Linked DNA regions of Homo sapiens: region 1 is linked to region 2. The links are contacts of gene promoters, found by promoter capture Hi-C in blood cells and fetal thymus (Javierre and others, 2016). All regions are on one chromosome and are shown on one strand. Each heading gives the region's core, a stretch centred on a gene start or on the middle of the fragment in contact. The rest is flanking DNA. Distances are from core to core; before and after follow the strand shown.

Region 1 (2,761 bases), core at 105-2,604, 1.1 Mb before region 2:
CTGGTCTTTACTAAAAATACAAAAATAAGCCAGTCGTGATGGTGCGTGCCTGTAGTCCCAGCTACTTGGGAGCCTGAGGCAGGAAAATCACTTGAACTCGCAAGGCAGAGGTTGCAATGAGCTGAAATCGTGCTACTGCACTCCAGCCTGGGCAACAGAGAGAGACTCTGTCTCAAAAAAAAAAAAAAAAAAAAAAGAAAGAAAACAAAATATTTTTTCCCCAACACTTTTCAAAGAATGGTTTAAAAGCAATGACAATCCATGATCAGTGAGAATTCCCACCCAGATTATGGTCTCAATTCCTTTTTCAAAGGGCAGTCAGGCTACTTGGAGACTTGGGTAAATCTATGGATTTTAATACATTCAAGAGGAACAGCAATCAAATGCCATATTTGGATCTGGTGGGATCTCATTCAGACAAAATATAAAAATATTTGAGACAATTCAGGATTTTCTTTCTTTAAGGGCTAGGTATTGGATAATGTTACACATCATTTTTTAAATTTTCTTAGGTGTAAAATCTTAGCGTTTTTTCTTTATATCCATATCTGTTAGGATATTTGTGAAAATATTCATGATTAAAATCACATATTTGGGATTTCATGTTTCAGATATTTTTTAGACTCCCTCATCTGTCAGTGTGGGTGCGGATAATGAAACAAAATGGGCAAGATGTTGGTAATTGTTGAAGCCTGTGCGACGAGACTTGGGAAGTGCAGGATTCTCTATATTTTTGTGTCTGCTTCAGGATGTCCATGACCACTCCCTTTCCCCTCCAAAAAAAAAGTTAAAAAAAAAAAAGCTGGCCAAATCAGTGAACATATTTCGTTTTTGGTCAACAAAGGGCTACCCTGAGAGGAATCTACATGCAGAGAAGTTCAGGAGACTGAACTAACGGAACGTCAGGAAGCGCTGCGGGCTGGAGAGCTGCTGTTGGAACAGGGAGGAGTTCTCCGGGCCGCACCCTGCCTCCGTCCCGCAGGCGAGTTGAGAAGCGCTATCGCCATCTTGTGGCGATAATGGATGGGATAATGTAGCTAAAACTTTGTTTAGTTTTATGAGTTGAGAAGGGCTGTCGCCATCTTATGGCAATAACGGATAGGCTAATGTAGCCAAAACTTTGTTTCGTTTTATGATTTCGATTAGGCATTTCATTGCTACGGTTTAATAATTGAATATACAAGAAATACTATAAACCATCACATCCCCAACAGCCCCCAGCCGCCCAGTTCCCCCATCTACTTGGCAAAGATTCTCTTTTTGACCAAACTCTAGGCGGCTTCTTCTGAGCCCTCTTCTGGACTAGGTGGCCACCTTGGTCTATAAAGACCTGAACAAACCCGAACATAGTTACTAATAGCCCCGGTCTTCTCAAGTGCCTGCCTGAGAAAACTCAATTGATGCCGCCAAAGGAATTTACTGTTTGTTTCAGTCAACGTCTGAAGATAGGGCCCTCGTCTCCCAGGCTCTGGTAGGAGTGGAGCCTGATTTTGATATGTGCCAGTTATGAAACCCAGATGGTTCCCCACTGTCAGTGGTTACTAAATAAAATCTGTTTTCGTCATTTAAAGTAAGGCCTGGTGTTTTATCTTTGATATACTACAATTAACCACTTTTATTCGTTTCCTGTGTACCTGTCTGGAATATCTTTATACAAACACAAATAAACAAATGTGTCCCCTTTCATTCACATTTGCCCCCTTTCATTCAAATGACTGATGGTCACATGTTCTTCACAGGTTCTGTCTCTTGCTTTTCTCATTAACTGTCTTTCTTATTGCAGGTGGAGTGGCTGAAACTTCTCAGCAGGCGCATCTACACTAGTGACCTGAGGAGAGAAACCCTAACCCCACAATGGCTGCATCTTCTCTGAAGACGAGACTGATGCTCATCTTTGAAATGAAGGGCAGTGTGTGCATTTCTCCATGAAGGTATCCAGAAACAGCCATGCCAGAGCTGCTGTGGGGTGGCTGAACTGCTATTCCTTTTCTAGGGTGGGATCCCCACTCTTTGTAAGGAAGGATATTGGGGTCCTGACACTGGGAACTCATCTTGTCAGTGAGGCCTTCTTTAACTGCTGTCTTGTAATTGAGCCACCCCATCTGTGTTTCCTGTTCCAATTTAGGACTTTTTTTTTTTTATCATAATATAAAGATCTGAAATGCTATGTTTTCCTTATTCATTGGCTTATTATCTTTACTATCCCATCCTCCACACTAAAAGTTTTTTCGAGCTGGATTTGGGAGTTGTGGGGTAGGTTATATTTTGATCACTTGTATTTCCCAGCTTCTAGAACAGTGCCCAGCAAAGTACTTCTCTGAATAAATGAATAAAGTAATATTCCTCTGCTCTGCTGTTGCCAACTGGAATATCCTGAGGGAAATTTCTTTACTTTCCTCAGGGGATGATCCAGAAGATGAAAAACAAATTGTCATTCCATATAGTCCTCTTCTGAGTGTTTTTCAGTTTTGTTAAAACTCAGATTTTTTCTTTTTACCTGAATGTTTTTTTGTTAATGATTATTAGCATATACAGTATTTTCTTTTATGTACCAAAAAAAGGCAATTGATACAGTGCATGACTTGAAAATATACCTGCCTTCTCTGAGGCTCAAATTCAGGACTGTATTATTTGGAAAGCCTTGTTGGGTTGTGGCTCCCAAGAAATCATACCTAATTTCCCTTCTTTGAGAGCACTGATTTCTGAGTTTCCATTTCTCCTAGAAGAGAAACATTGGCTTGTAAGAATTTATGTATCATCA
Region 2 (2,880 bases), core at 283-2,782:
TATTTCCTTTTCAAAAGTTGCGTTTTTTCAGATACCTCGCTTATTACACTAAGAAAGGTTTATATCTTTCACAAAGGGTTTACTTACAAAAATCTTCCAATTTTGTATACCTGTGTTTCATAACTGACTAGCCGTCAAACCAAGATGTAGAGTTTCCAACCGTTATTTTCCAAATTTTTAGAAATTACGTGAAATATTTGAATGCATGCCTTCTCAATAAAATGGGACGTAGGAAGCACTGGTGCAGAAGATGGGTACAATACTTATCTGGGACCACTCCATTATTTGGTTGGCACGTTGTTTGAACAAAAAGGGGAAAAGCTCAGGTTACTTAGCATGGTTCGGACTTATTTGAAAACTACCACAGCAGGAGCGGAAATAAGACCGCATTACCTCACTCTCTGCTGTGCTGTGCTAGGGGGTTATCCAGAATAGGATTGTAGAAGTGGATGTCGATTTAATAGTTTTTTATTCTCCCATTAGCTGAGTCTCTGATTGGCAATGTGAGATCGTTTTAGCTTATTGATACTTTGAAATGCACTTAACAGCCACAAACAAGTTAAAGGGTTGTTACCATAAAATCTTATCCCCAGGGTGTGCTTGCATTTATCACCCGTGTTTGCTTTCACACTAAGTGGACTTAACTCCCCAGCAGAATGCCTGTCAGGGAACCGGTTTCGTGGACCCAGCATTTAACGCCTTTCGCAGGCTTGTGAGGCCCATAAATATTTGTTGAATAAAAGAATGAGTTGACCATGTCATGGTGCGCTGATTGCGTGTGCTGACATGGAACACAGGTTGTAAACCTTAATACCAATTTGGGGCATGTTGTATGGATGAAAAGGGCATTGGAAATTCCTGAAGTGCATCCCACATTGGACTGTGGAAATAAGTTGCAAGTGCAGAAACGTTTCCACACTTGCAGTTTGAGTATTAATTGCAGCGTTTGTGAATTCTGGTGTTGTCTACGATTCATTCTTGTTTGACGTGAAAGGTATTCGCGAGACACATCGCTCTAAAACATTGCCAGAAAATGTAATAGAGTTGATGACAACTGGCCCTAACACGGCCTAAAACTCGCACTTTTCTCTCCCTCCGCAACTATTCAAAACACTGTATTTTACATTTCTTGCAAATTAAAAACTAACATCTCTGGCAACGGACCTCTAAAAATTTCTAATAAAACTCCTCGGATGCTTGTGGCACTGCATTTGTAAACCGCCCCCTCTCAACCTACTCCCTAAAAAAGAGCTGCTTTTTGAGAGAGAAGCGGTACCCTCTGATGTTACTGGGCGGCAGTCTGCCTACAATTTCCTTCACAATGAGGCAACCAGAGCGGCTTTTTCTGTGTGTTTGCTTGCGTTGAGGGGAGCAGGACCATAGGCCCTAGAGGCCCCCAGCTGCCTTCTGAGACTGGGCGAAACCCTCGGCAGCGCGCAGGGGGCGCTAGGGCGCGAGGGGCGGGCACTGACGGGCACCAATCACGGCGCAGTCCCACCCTATAAATAGGCTGCGTTGGGGCCTTTTTTTCGCATCCTGCTTCGTCAGGTTTATACCACTTTATTTGGTGTGCTGTGTTAGTCACCATGTCTGAAACAGTGCCTCCCGCCCCCGCCGCTTCTGCTGCTCCTGAGAAACCTTTAGCTGGCAAGAAGGCAAAGAAACCTGCTAAGGCTGCAGCAGCCTCCAAGAAAAAACCCGCTGGCCCTTCCGTGTCAGAGCTGATCGTGCAGGCTGCTTCCTCCTCTAAGGAGCGTGGTGGTGTGTCGTTGGCAGCTCTTAAAAAGGCGCTGGCGGCCGCAGGCTACGACGTGGAGAAGAACAACAGCCGCATTAAGCTGGGCATTAAGAGCCTGGTAAGCAAGGGAACGTTGGTGCAGACAAAGGGTACCGGAGCCTCGGGTTCCTTCAAGCTCAACAAGAAGGCGTCCTCCGTGGAAACCAAGCCCGGCGCCTCAAAGGTGGCTACAAAAACTAAGGCAACGGGTGCATCTAAAAAGCTCAAAAAGGCCACGGGGGCTAGCAAAAAGAGCGTCAAGACTCCGAAAAAGGCTAAAAAGCCTGCGGCAACAAGGAAATCCTCCAAGAATCCAAAAAAACCCAAAACTGTAAAGCCCAAGAAAGTAGCTAAAAGCCCTGCTAAAGCTAAGGCTGTAAAACCCAAGGCGGCCAAGGCTAGGGTGACGAAGCCAAAGACTGCCAAACCCAAGAAAGCGGCACCCAAGAAAAAGTAAATTCAGTTAGAAGTTTCTTCTAGTAACCCAACGGCTCTTTTAAGAGCCACCTACGCATTTCAGGAAAAGAGCTGTAGTACACAGATGAAATCCCCCAAGCAAATGCAACACGCCCTCAATTATATTAGAATCACTTGGAGAGTCGATAGAACTTTAACATAGCCTCATCTAGTAAGAATTTACTACTCAATCTATCAAAGATAGCAAGGTGAATTCAAATGCACCGAGTTAAAATCGAGTTTTAAAGTCACCTGGGTTTCGGTAGCCGGAAGTCCCGCGTCTCACGACTCCAAGCTAATTAGTCATAACCGTATTGAACCAAGGTTGAAGCCCAGTCCCAGGCTTGAGGCTTTTTATTATACAAGGTTAAAGTGGGGATATTGCGTTTTGGGGTCAATATTGCTAAAGTAGCATTTTCCGAAATTGGGTGGTCCTAAGAAATGCTTCTGGGATAGTTGGCAAAATATATGGCTTAACCACGCCCTCTCCACAGGAGTGGCTAGCGAGCTGTCTGTCCTTGGGAAGGACGGTGACCCTGCTGGCGTGGCTGGCGCCCACGTTGGCGTCCTCTGAAAGCCCCGCCAGGTAGGCCTAGCTCGCTTGCTTTCTGCAGCGCCATCATGACAAAGCTTTGAAACGCAAAATG

What was found. The method cuts DNA at HindIII sites, captures the fragments that hold promoters and counts their contacts. A CHiCAGO score of 5 or more calls a contact.
Region 1: a contact is called between a fragment that was not itself captured here and the fragment with the promoter of H1-1 in region 2, in 1 of 17 cell types (activated CD4 T cells). The highest score is 5.1, in activated CD4 T cells.

Annotation. Positions count from the first base shown.
Region 1 is chr6:27,125,485-27,128,245 of GRCh38, reverse strand. No RefSeq gene overlaps it. Among named protein-coding and RNA genes, the nearest start is that of H2BC11, 5.9 kb to the left of the region's middle. RefSeq lists enhancers at 870-939, 1,150-1,199. The HindIII fragment of the contact is 5,241 bases long and covers 1-2,761 here.
Region 2 is chr6:26,016,439-26,019,318 of GRCh38, reverse strand. It overlaps H1-1 (H1.1 linker histone, cluster member), which reads left to right and starts at 1,532. Exons shown (of 1, transcript NM_005325.4): 1 at 1,532-2,287. The coding sequence starts at 1,587. The coding sequence ends at 2,234. It also overlaps the pseudogene H3P26. RefSeq lists an enhancer at 2,340-2,880. The HindIII fragment of the contact is 5,921 bases long and covers 1-2,865 here.